Regions from separate parts of the Homo sapiens genome. Here region 2 is linked to region 1. Evidence: promoter capture Hi-C in human tissues and cell types (Jung and others, 2019). All regions are on one chromosome and are shown on one strand. Each heading gives the region's core, a stretch centred on a gene start or on the middle of the fragment in contact. The rest is flanking DNA. Distances are from core to core; before and after follow the strand shown. Region 1 holds the start of CCL13 (C-C motif chemokine ligand 13). Region 2 has its middle 38 kb from the start of CCL1.

The links. The method cuts DNA at HindIII sites, captures the fragments that hold promoters and counts their contacts. A contact is called where the count stands out against the background at its distance.
Region 2: a fragment that was not itself captured here is called in contact with the fragment with the promoter of CCL13 in region 1 in 1 of the 25 tissues and cell types used here (spleen).

The regions. Positions count from the first base shown.
Region 1 is chr17:34,351,014-34,357,754 of GRCh38, forward strand. CCL13 (C-C motif chemokine ligand 13) reads left to right here and starts at 5,467. Exons shown (of 3, transcript NM_005408.3): 1 at 5,467-5,589; 2 at 6,462-6,576. The coding sequence starts at 5,514. The HindIII fragment of the contact is 2,821 bases long and covers 4,540-6,741 here.
Region 2 is chr17:34,397,875-34,404,440 of GRCh38, forward strand. No RefSeq gene overlaps it. Among named protein-coding and RNA genes, the nearest start is that of CCL1, 38 kb to the left of the region's middle. The HindIII fragment of the contact is 3,260 bases long and covers 3,192-6,451 here.

The DNA.
Region 1 (6,741 bases), core at 4,217-6,716:
AGGTTTCTGACTCCAGACCCTGGCTCCTGGACAGTATCTCTGGACCTGCCTAAGGCCTGGAAGAATTTGCTGCCCTTAAGGGAAGGACATAAGCCTGGTTGGTTTTACCACATGCTAATTGTAGAGCCCTAGGGCCTTGAGTGAACATAGCCAGTAGTCAGCTAGTGGTTCCAGTTGGTGCTGCTTTTAGGTCCAACCCAGTTCAGTCCCAGTAGTGGTGACCATGGGGGTAGTTGTGTAACCTCTCTTCCAGCTCCAGGCATCTCAGCACAGAGAGAGATAATCTGTTTGTTTGGGACAAAGTAAGAAAAAAGAACAAGAGTTTCTGCCTGGTAGTCCAGAGAATTCTTCTGGATTTTATCCAAGACCACCAAAGTGGTACACAGAAAACCACAGAATAACATTGTAATTGTGGTGTGTAAACTATGCATAAGTTACGTAGAAAGACAAAAAGATGAACTGATCCAAATATCTGCAACAACTTTTGAAGACATAGATAGTACAATAAAATATAAACAGAAACAACAGAAAGTTAAAAAGTGGGGAGATGAAGTTAAAATGTAGAAGTTTTATCAGTTTTCTCTTTGTTTGTTTATGTAATCAGCATTAAATTGTAATCAATTTTTTTAAAATGGGTTATAAGACACTATCTGCAACCCTCATGGTAACCTCAAATCTAAAAACACACAACAGATACACAAAAAATAAAAAGCAAGAAATTAAATCATACCACTAGAGAAAATAATCTTCACCAAAAGGAAGATAGGAAGGAAGGAAGGAAAGAAAGAAGAGAAGACCACAAAACAACCAGAAAACAAATAACAAAATGGCAGGAGTAAGTCCTTACTTATTAATAATAACATTAAATGTAAACAGACTAAAGTCTCCAATCAAAAGACGTAAAACGTGGCTAAAAGGATGAAGGAGCAAGACCTGATGATCCGTTGCCTACAAGAAACACACTTCACCTATAAAGGCACACAAAGACTGAAAACAAAAGGGATGCAAAGAGATACTCCAAGCAAATGAAAACCAAAAAAGAGCAGGAGTGGCTATACTAATATCAGACAAAATAAATTTCAAGACAAAAACCATAAAAAAAGAGACAGAGGGAGTTATTATATAGTGATAAAGGGGTCAATTTAACAAGAAGATATAACAATTATAAATATATAGGCACCCAACACTAGAGCACCCAGATATATAAAGCCAATATCATTAGAGCTAAAGAGAGAGATAGACTCCAACAGGATAACAGCTGGATAATTTAACACCCCACTTTCAGACCCTGAAACAGATCATCCAGACAGAAAATCAACATAGGAACATCAGACTTAATCTGCACTATAGACCAATTGGATCTACTAGATATTTACAAAACATTTAATCCAACAGCTGCAAAATACACATTTTTCTCCTCAGCACATAGATCATTCTCAAGGATATATCAGATGTTAAGCCACAAAACAAGTCTTAAAACATTCAAAAAATTGAAATAGTATCAAGTATATTCTCTGAACACAATGGAATAAAACTAGAAGTCAATAACAAGAGGAATTTTGGAAACTCCACAAACACATGGAATGTAAACAATATGCTCCTGAACAACTGGTTGGTCAATGAAGAGATTAAAAGGGAAACTGAAAAATTTCTTGAAACAAATTATGATGGAAACACAATATACCAAAAGCTATGGGTTACAGCAAAAGCAGTTCTAAGAGGTTAATTTATATAGCTCTAAGTGCCTACATCAAAAAAGAAGCAAACCTTCAAATAAACAACCTGAAAATAAACGCTTGAAGCAATGGATATCCCATTTACTTTGATGTAGTTATTACACATTACATGACTGCATCAAAATATCTCATGTAACCCATAAAAATACACACCTATTATGTACTCACAAAAATTAAAAATTAAAAAATAAGAAGCCTACAGTTAATGAAGTTGAAATGCCAGAAATTCTCTGGAATGACAGGAAGGAGTCCAGAGACTCAGGGAAGTGGATCTGTTGGAATGGATCTAGTCTATCTGTTGGATCTGTTGGAATGGATCTAGTCTATGTGCAAGCTGCTGGGAGGCCCAGGGGGACACTCCCTTCAATCCAGGTATTAGGAAATGTTTTGATGAGTTGTGGGAGGAGGGCAGGATGCTTAAGAGCTCTGTAGTGGCTATTCTTTATAGATCAGTGATGACAGTGGGACATGATATAATCCCATAGTTCTCAAACTTTTGTGTATTTCAGGATCACCTAATGGGCTTGTTAAAGCAGTCTGCCATGCTACTACTGGTGGTAATTAAAGTAATCATGATATGTTGACAGATCCTATTCCTGTGCCCCTTTCCATGGTGCACCTAAAACATACGAGCAATCCAATCCCAGAATCCCATTTGGAAGTTCTATTTTATGGGGCCAATTCAATGTCAGTAAGTGTCCCAGCAAGAAATAGATAACACTTAAAATGGAAGACTTGGAGAAAGGTTTAGTAAAGAAGCTATTTACAAAGATGTAAGTGGGTGAAAAGAGACCACAGGGGTGTTTGGTACCATGAGGCTATTAAGAACATGGTTAGACTGCAAAAAATTTCTCCAGTTCTGTAGGATATCTGTTCACTCTGATGATAGTTTCTTTTGCTGTACAGAAGCTCTTTAGTTTAATTATATCCCATTTGCCAATTTTTGCTTTTGTTGCAATTGCTTTTGACATTTTCATCATGAAATCTTTTCCTGTGCCTATGTTTTGAATGGTATTGCCTAGAGTTTCTTCTAGGGTTTTTATAGTTTTGGGTTTTACATTTAAGTCTTTAATCCATCTTGATTTCATTTTTGTATGAGGTGTAAGGAAGGGGTCCAGTTTCAGTGTTCTGCATACGGCTAGCCAGTTTTCCCAGCACCACTTATTAAATAGGGAATCCTTTCTCCATTGCTTATTTTTGTCAGGTTTGTCAAAGATCAGATGGTTGTAGATGTGTAGTCTTATTTCTGAGATCTCTATTCTGTTCCATTGGTCTGTGTGTCTGTTTTTGTACCAGTACCATACTGTTTTGGTTACTGTAGCCTTGTAGTATAGTTTGAAGTCAGGTAGCATGATACCTCCAGCTGTGTTCTTTTTGTTTAAGATTGTCTTGGCTATTCCACTGCGGCCTCTCAGGGAGTGAGGGAAAGGGAGAGCGTCAGGATAAATAGCTAATGTGGATGGAGCTTAATACTTGGGTGAGGGGTTGATAGGTGCAGCAAACCACCATGGCACATGTTTACCTATGTAACAGACCTGCACATCCTGCGCATGTATCCCAAAATTTAAAATAAAATAAAAATTTTTTAAAAAGAACATGGTTATATTCCTAAATCTAAAAAGGAAAAACAGGGGATAGCTCAGCAAACCTGGATAGGAGAGTCATGGAGAAACCACCTTGAAAGAAGTTAAAACCATTAGTTGAGGGATGTATCCAGGTTGAGGAACACAGGGAGACAACAGAGGAGAAGAACCTCAACTTAACTCTTCTCCCTGCTCTAATGTCCTCAGAAGCTCCCTTGTGCCTAAACCCAGTCAGAAGCTAGAAGGTCAGCAACCTCACTGATGTAACCCACCAAGATTGGCTTCCTAGGGCAGAGAATAGAATGGAAAAGAATGGAATGTGTGTCTGAAGGGACAAGCTTATAATATCCTTTTCTCAGGTGAGTCTTGACACATTTTTGTGTCAAAGTTAGGTAGGTCTCAAAATGAATTGAGTGGTGTACAATCTTTTGATATTCTCTGGAAGAGATTGCACAAGATTGAAATGACCACTTCCTTCAGTGCTTGGAGGAATTAGCTGTTTGTGCCCTTTGAGCCCAGAGAATGTTTTGTGGGAAGATTTTCAATTCCTGATTCCATTTCTTTAATAGCTTTAGAATGACTTTCTATTTTTTATTTATTTGTGCACCCTGGTCAGTTAGATTTTTAAGAAATTCATCCATTTCCTCTAAACTAAATTTTTGGCATAAGGTTCTTATCATTTTCTTTTTGGTGTCTGCAGGCTCTGCAACTGGTTATATGTACCTTTTTCCTTTTTTCTTTTCTTTTTTTTTTTTTCTGGGACAGAGTCCTACTCTGTCACTCAGACTGGGGTGCAGTGGTGCAATCTTGGCTCACTGTAACCTCGGCCTCCCAGGTTCAAGCAATTCTCCTGCCTCAGCCTCCCAAGTAGCTGGGATTACAGGCATGTGCCACCATGCCTGGGTAATTTTTGTATTTTTTTTAGTAAAGACAGGGTTTTACCATGTTGTCCAGGCTGCTCTAGAACTCTTGACCTCAAGTGATCCCCCCGCCTCAGCCCCTTTTTTCTTTTTTTTTTCATTTTCAGTTCAGGAGAGTTTTAGCTTAATTATAGGCTACAGAACCAGCTTTGGGCTTCATCTATCCTTTCTAATATTTACTGTTTCCTATTTCTCTAATCCTAGCTCTTTATTTCTTCCCTTTACTTTCACTGGGCTTATTTTGCTATAGTGGAATGCAGAGGGATGAGTATTCCAGGAAGGCACAAAAACTGTGCCAAGTCTTGGAGCTAGGGATGAGTGGGAAAGGGACATGTTCAACCATTTTAAGCCATTCCCTCCCCACCTCCCAGCTCCCAGATATGTGCCCCTCGCAGGAGGAGCCCAGGAATGGGCCAAACACCTCACTTCTTTGCTCTGAGGGCCACCCCAGCCCTCCCATCAACAGCTCTAGAAACCCAATGGTCCTTCCTGGAAACACGGGGCCTGCATCAATCAGAGGTGTTTGAACCATGTCCCTCTGGGCCTGAGGGGCAGAAGGGGACACAATATGTAATGTAAGGAGCCCCTGTCATCAGAAATCTGACTTAATCTGTTTCAGATATTAGACTTCCACATAAAAGTTGACTTGGAAAAAGACTTCTGCTGCTAAACAAAAGTTGAAACTGCCTTGGTGATAAAATATAAGCAGACCAGCTTTCTCTTCTAGCTTTCCCTCTCATTTCCCATAAGATTTTGGTCAAGTTATTTAATCTCTCTGCATCCGTTTCCTCTTCTATGAAATGGGCATGATAATAATGGTATGTACCTCCTCAAACTAAATATATAACGTGAACAGAGTCCTTAGCACAGCACTCTTTCTCTACAGGAGTTAATTTTCATTGTTTTTCTCTTTCCTGTTGGAGAAAGTAAGAAGAAAACAGCTCCTTTATGGCTTCCCATGGTGAATGGCTGGGGCGCGTCTGTGTCCCTTTCTCCTCTCTGGCTCCTTGTGGCCTGAACAGCCAGAAGGAAGCCATGCCATGCTGTTTCAGCCCTCAGCTTCCCTCTTGCATTTCCTAGAAAAGTCTTTGGTGCCCAGCTCCAGCTCAGCAGATTCAGGATCCCCCTTCATCATGACTTGGTCAACGCCCTGCTCAGGCCAAGGTCCTCTGAGAGTTCCAAGCTTCTCCACTCCCTATAAAAGGCCGGCGGAACAGCCAGAGGAGCAGAGAGGCAAAGAAACATTGTGAAATCTCCAACTCTTAACCTTCAACATGAAAGTCTCTGCAGTGCTTCTGTGCCTGCTGCTCATGACAGCAGCTTTCAACCCCCAGGGACTTGCTCAGCCAGGTAAGTCACCTCCCTTCGACTCTCCCTCTCTTTCCCTCTGTTTCTCTATTCAAGGAAGACCTAAGCCCGAGTGCTCCTCCACTTTTTTTTTAGATTGAGTCTCATTATGTTGCCCAGGCTGAAGTGCAGGGGTGCGATCTTGGCTCATTGCAACCTTCACCTCCCAGGTTCAAGCGATTCTCTTGCCTCAGCCTTCTGAGTAGCTGTGATTACAGGCACCCGCCATCACGTGCAGCTAATTTTTGTATTTTTAGTAGAGAAGGGGTTTCACTATGTTGGCCAGGCTGGTCTCAAACTCTTGACCTCAAGTGATCCTCCCGTCTCGGCCTCCCAAAGTGCTGGGATTACAGGCGTGAGCCACCAGGCCCAGCCAAGTGCCCCACTTCTAAGCCCACCAGAATAGTAAGGCTCCTCAGAGGTTCACTTTAACATCTAATTTTAAAGATAGAAAGCTGAAGCCCATGTTGGAGGCAGAAGGGACCCTAGCCATCCACCTCCAGGTTATTGCAGAGCAAGAATGAAACCTAAGCTTCTGACTCCAGATTTAGGGCCTTTTCTTTGACCTCATCTGATCGTCCCAAACTCTGCAGATCTGGGACCACACCCAGGACCTTTCCCACTGGCCTTGCCCGTGGCCTCCCCTAGATGGCTGTGACATGTCTCCACCATGCAGCTGAGCCTTTGAGATCCTGAGGCACATGTCACAGGTCCCACCTCACCTCAGGGTCTAGGGTGGGAGTGCTGGGCTTGGGGGTGAGTAAGATCTATTTCTTCCTCTTTGCTTTGCATCCCATACAGATGCTCCCTGCTGTATTCAAGCTGAGAAAAGCCTAACACATCCTCAAAGTCTTTTTCTTTGTAACTATTTCTAGATGCACTCAACGTCCCATCTACTTGCTGCTTCACATTTAGCAGTAAGAAGATCTCCTTGCAGAGGCTGAAGAGCTATGTGATCACCACCAGCAGGTGTCCCCAGAAGGCTGTCATGTGGGTAGAAAAATCCCTGCTCACCTGGCTCCTCCCCACTCCCACATTCCCCAATCCAAAGTTCTGCCCCAGGAGACAGACGTCAGACTGACTTGAGATCTTAGGATGAGATCTAGCCAGACTGTGTGATGCAAATCCTCCAATTTTGGCTGCACAACAGGTCCA
Region 2 (6,566 bases), core at 3,572-6,071, 46 kb after region 1:
GCACAGTGTTTAGCAAATAGTCGATGCACCATAAATAAGTGGTGAATGAATGAATGAGTGTCTTAAGAAAGTAGGAAAGGTATCAGAAGAATCCTGGGGCGTCATGTGGTATCTAAAAGAAACCTGGAAATCAAAGCTTCAGAAAGATCAGAAATCATAGGCAGCTCTGGTGATCTCAGCAGGAGTTTGTGACCAACGAGTACAGAGACCAGGATCACCAGTTCCTCCTGCCACACCTCTGCCCCAGCCCTGGCAATGCCGGAGAAGTAGCCTGGTGTTCACGTTTGTGCATATGACTGAGTGTCTTTGACAGGTTGAGTCCCCATAGAATGTGTTACATGAGATGCTAAAGAGATGGAAAATAGAGGTTGCTTTTCAGGTTCCATTTCCAGTCAAGATTCATAACAAGCACGGATGCTTAACCTGCCCCCCAAGATCAACTCCAGAGGAACACAAAGGAAGGGAAAACTGAAAACCAGGAGGAACCATGGGGGTGTGGTCCTATTTTGAATTGGACGGTAGGGCGGAAGGTGATGGTGTGGCCTGGGCAGGACGTATCCCAGCACAGCAGCAGAAGTGTAAAAGAGAGGGGGAAATATTAGGAATTCTGTTCTTTCTTCTCCCCAGTCACAGCCTTGGGAAAAACCTGTGGAGACTAAATCTTATGCCCTCATTATTGTCAGGAGTAAAATCAGAGCTGTACAGAAGTCCTGTGCTAAAGGGAGGCTGAGCAAAGCAGGCAGAGTGACTGACTTGGGCCGTTACTTCCTCTCCCGTCCTATCTGAACTTCTGGGGCTGTAAAATTACTGTCTAAAGAGTGGATCCTCTCTATGGGTGGCAAAGGGTTAAGATTGAGCTGAGAGGTGTCTTGGTAAGTGTTTTCTCATGCCAGGGGTTCCGCACCTTAAGGCTCACCTCTCCCTACTTCCTGAGTTCACTGGAATTGAAGTAGATAGAATCTGGCATCTCACCACCAACACTGCCAAAAGGAGTAACCAATACTCTCAGGGAAAAATGAGCTCACAAGTCAAAACAACAGGACAATTGAGGAGCACAAACATTTCAATAGAAAATAGTTATGTTTCTGGGCCCAGAGGCCAGGCTGGGTTGGGGACCAGGATCCCAACCCTGTGACAATGGGAGAAAAGGGGACTGGAACTGTTCCTGAGCAAATACCTCATGGCAAGTACCATGTGGGCTTCTCTGTACACCATCTTGCTTAATCTCACCTCTGTCCTTTGAGATAGGACTTGTCACTACCACGTCACAAGTCAGAAGCTGAGGCTCGGAGCAGTCACATGGCTTCTTAAAGGAGACCCAATTTACAAATAGCATGACAGATTTTAACCTAGACCTAAGCTCTGGAGTCAGACCATCTAGATTTAAGTCACTTCCTAACTGCATGAACTTGACCAAATCATTTAACTTCTCTGACCTCAACTTCCTCTTCTGCAAAACAGGGCTAAAAATTGTACCTAACTCATTGGATTGTTGTGAGGATGCAATGAATTTAGAATAGCTCCTGATAGTTATGTGGTACTCAGTAAACATTGGTTGTTATTTTAATTATTTCCAGCTGTGTACCTGTGCCTTTAACATTCAGCCTTTCTGGTAAAATGTAATAAATCTCCTCTCTTCTTGTTTAAGTAGCAACCAATTGGAATTGTTACACATTTGCTTCTTAAATAGAGTCCACCTACATGGTCTAGAAAGGAAGAAACAGGGTGAGTTCTGAGATCAAATCCTAATTTTTAACAGAGAGCTCAAAATGAGAGAGTATGTCCTGCTTTGGAAAAGAGATTTCTCTAAGCACCCAGAAAGGACACAGGTATTACCAGAGAAAGGATTCTGTTCCAAGATCTAAACTTATCCAGAAGGAATCAAAAGCAAAGGCTAAAATATTAAACATTAGGGAATGCTTCCTTAACTAATTAAACACCAATGCAACGGAATATTATGAAACTCTCAAAACTTATCTGTACACATAAGGCATTAAACACACTCACACACATACTTGTGAAACAGTTAAATGCAAAAAACACAGCACAAAACAGTGGGTAGACTATGATTCAGTTCTGGAAAAATACAGCTATCTGTGTAGACACAGAGAGAAAATTACAAGGGAAGTGTGCTAACATGCAGGGAATGGGGGTAACTTTTTTGAGACTTTCCTTGAAGTTATAGTCCTTTCAAAAGAAATGCAAAATATTGAGGAATAGAACTATGTTGTACATTTATGTTTTAAAAAACTCACACCAATGCAAATCTAATTTATTTTTCTTTTGCAGGAAGTTAATCTGAAACATATATGGTCTTATATTGATGTATTCTAACTATATAAAAATACACAAAGTCACCTACACACAAATCCACACCCATAGAAGCTTGCAGAAGGACAAGCGATTCATAAGCATCACTGGAATGGGAAGCTGTTTCCAATCAAAGACCCAGAAAGGATTGATGGGAGAGAGGACCTACGATGTGCCTAGAACTTTACAGCAAGTTTCCTATAGGAATTTCCATATTAACCCTTCAAAGTACTTAGCATTATCCCCATTTGCAGATGAGGAAGTGAGGCTCGGAGATGTGAAGTGACTTGCCAGGCATCACACAGCTCGTGGGTGTGGCTTCCACCTCACCACACTCTGATAGGCACCAGTGTCAGGCACAATCAGATACAAAGTCAGTGAGTTTGGAGCTTTTCTCAATTGGCCTCAACACCTCCTAACTGTCTCTTTGCAAAGCAGCCCACTCTTACCAGAACAGCAGCTTCTTCCTCTGCCCTCCCCCAGTCGAACCCTGCACTTTCTCATCTTTGTATCCCAGGGGCTGGCACCGGCCTTGTCATGGGGAGACACCTAGGGAAAGATGGGCAAAGAGACAAGAATTTCCAAGTTTCCTCTGACTGCTCCCCTGCAACACGGAGAGCCTGAGCTAGCACAAAGGTCCCCTTCCACATGCTGGCCATCACACATCTGTGGGGGAGATGTCACTGTGGCCACAAACTCCGTCGTCTGTGATCGATAACGGATGACTGATGTGAGTGGAAATTTTGAATAAAGGAACATGATCGTGCCAGAGAAGATATGAGAAATAAACATGGCAAAGCGGGTCCTCTTCTGCAGGAGCAGGCTCTTGCCTGTGCCAGGACCTGGCACATAACATGGTCACATTAAGCATTGAATAAACATTTGTTAAATGGATGGATGGATTATGATTATCCTGTGAATCCACACAAATTTGGTAGTACCACAGGTATTTCAAAATCGATGTGCCACAATCTGAATTCATCATCTCCGCAACATTCTCTTTTCTCTCATGGTCCATTGGTTATCCAACCAGGACATAGCTGCCAGCCTTGACTCCTCCCTGTCCCCCACTCCGCCCCATCCTCCCTGTCACCAAAGCCTGGCAAGTCTGTACACGTTAAGTCTCAAATGTCGTTAAACCCCTGTCTTTCCCCCACCCTGGAGGCCACCCTCTTGGTCAGGAGAGATTGAGATCACAAGCTCAGGAGTAGGCATGCCTGAACAAGCATGTGCCAGCTTTACGCCCTTTGGTAAAGCACTCAACCTCTGGAAACCTCAGGTTTCTCTTCTATAACATGGGGCAAATAATGGTTCCTACCTCAGTAGAGGATAATTATGAGAGCACAATGTGACAAGTAGATCATCTTCCACCTGACTTAACCCAAAATCCTATTACTGAGTCTCCCTGTTTCAGGTCCCAACCCCTTCTCCCCAGGCAGTCAGAGGGCCCAGTCTGAAATTCAAGTCTGTTCTCTCACTCCTGGTGTCTAGTGAAAGGAGCCTGTCTTTTGGAGTCATAAAGTGTAGATTCATGTGTGCCTAGGAAGCCCAGTTATTTGGCTTTCTCATGCCCTCCATTTATGCATCTCAAAGCATCACCAGGCATTGCTGTATGCTGAGGGTTACATCTGACAGCACAAGTGAGAGCCTTAGCCCAGGACCTGGCACCCACTGGGCACTCAGTAAAGCTTAGCTCTTTTTCCTCTCCCTTCTTTCTTGTCAGGAGAGTGTAGGAGGAAGTTGGGATCAAACCCTGGAGGGAGAGGTCCCAAAGGGTGGAGAAAGTGAAGGGGAAGAGTACCGTGAAAGTCAGGCTGGCAGCCCAGCCTGTTTCATCAGGACACCCCCAGAGAGCTGCCCCTTGCTGAGCAGAGGTATCCAGTGAGCCATCCATCAGAAGCACTGGCAGTGCTGGTAAAATCACAGCTTCCATAGCCCCATCACACTCTATTCTCTAAATCCCCATGCAGTAGGCCTGGGCATGACCTGGGAGTCAGCATTATAACATATATCCCAGGAGGCCCCACTGCTTAGCTGGGTTTGGGAAGCCCTGCTCAGTGAATTTGCCTTTGATAAGCAGCCCAGAAGCCTCCTTAAACTGAAGCTATTCCTTGGCCATCTTTTTGGTAGATAAAAAGTGGCAGCAACAGGGAATTTGATTTCATATGGATGGATTTACATTAATTGGAGAAAACAAAGTCTAGACATTTTGAAAAACCAAGGGACAAGGTGGCCAAGAATGCTAACATTGTACTGTGGCCTTTGGGCTCTCAGCACCTGATTAGAGACCAGGACAAACCTGCTCAGGCCTGGCCTGAGGCCGGGATGGTTCTAGGTTGACTTCGACCAGCAGGTGATCTTCTCTCGAGCCTAGAATAACATCTTTTGTCAGCTGTCTGATGCCACTCTTCTGTCTTGGTACCAGGTTAAATGGCATTTAGAGAAACAATTTGGCACCTGAACTCTAATATTGGTGCTTAGCAGCTGTAAAAGGATGGTGGGGGGGCATCATCTAGAGACCCCACGGCAATAATTCTTCAGATCACATGGAGCCTTAGAGGCTACCATAACTCAATACTAAAGAAGGCCACACAGTTGCAGAAAGGGTACTAAGACTTTCCAAATTCTGACCAGGTATCAGGCCCTGTGCTAGGCCATGTGTATGTGTACTTACATAAATGAATGCATAAATATATATATATATATATACACACACACACACACAAGCATGTACACACATATACGTGTTTATGTGTATATATATGCACATATTTATTTTCTATATATGAATATGTATGTGAATGTTCATGTGCATGTTTATATTCATATATGTATTCATATACATATGCAGGTGTCTACGTGCGTATATGTGTGTATATATAGGATATACTGTATATATCTTCACAGTAGCCCTCATTATCAGGCTTATTTTAGAGTTAAGAAAACTGAGGTGTAGAGAAATTAAGTAACTTCCCAATGTCACAAAGCTGAGTTTGACTCCAAATGCTTATGAAACCAGTGTCCTTTCTACACTGCTTCCTCTCCTAAAAATAAAACATAAAGAGGCACACAGCAGTTCTAGCTCTCTGGAATATGTGTTGTAAATCCTGGGTACAATGACTATAAGAATCTCCAAAACGTGCCTTACTATATCTAGGAGTAGGGGAGACAAGCTCTGGGCATAGCCAGGTAGCCCAGGTGTGCCGGGCCAAAAGATCAGAGACCCAATTCCCAAGTAAGCAAACTGATGAGCTCACTCTTTCTCCTTCCCAACCTTTCTCTGCCTGCCCTATGTTATAGGAACCATGTAATCTATAATAGAACTTTTAGACTCCCATGCATGCGTCGGCTTAGGAGAAGGTGTTTGGATTTAAGAGTCTGGAGCAATAATTTCCTTTTAGTTTCCATTGTAACTTTGAATAGTTACAAATTGCCTCATTGTAGATTTTAAATAAATAATGCATGTCTCTCCAATAATTATTCAAGAGAAGATTTGTTTCTTACCTACCCTGTGGTCTATTACTTGCCTCTGGTATTTTAATAATCTTAATCATCATCTGTTTAGCATCTCCAGGCTGCTGTGCTCACTGCAAGGTAGCTTATACCTTAACCCTGACATGCACAATAATCTGGCCAGTCAAGTTGCTTGTCCCACTTTCTTGTCTGTGTGTCCCATGGGACTGTAAGTTCCATGCAGATAGAGTTGGCATAGAAATGGTTCAGATGCATGGAGCCCCAGGACCTAGCACAGTGCTTGGCACACGGTAAGCATTCCACATTTACTGAAGGAAAGGATGGGTGAATGGATGGATGAGTGCTGGGAGGCTGTATTGTAAATAACAAAAGTGGGATCTGAAGGAAGGTATGGGACTCTGAAGTCTGCATTCCTTTTACCTTTTGCTATATTTTTCTGTCTCACTATTATATTTTGTTTTCTCTGGGCCTTTTTCTTCAGTCACACTTTTCCAAGTTCATGTGTGCTATTTCTTGGACTGGTTCTATTTATTTAGCTGGAGGCAGATTTGCATTTTTAAAGTTCATGTGTTTGTTTTCGAGCCAAGGTCGTTTTTATGTGTGTCATTTCTCTGGGCCTTCACTTTTCACGTTTTATGACCATATCCAGAATTTCCCACTTCTCCAAGAAGTAACTGGGTGGTTGGGAGGGGGGACAGTCAAGGGTATTGGTCCAATGGGCAATGAGATGTGGGTGAGATTGGGGCCAGTTCCTGGGAAGCCCCTCTGAGGCCCCCACACCT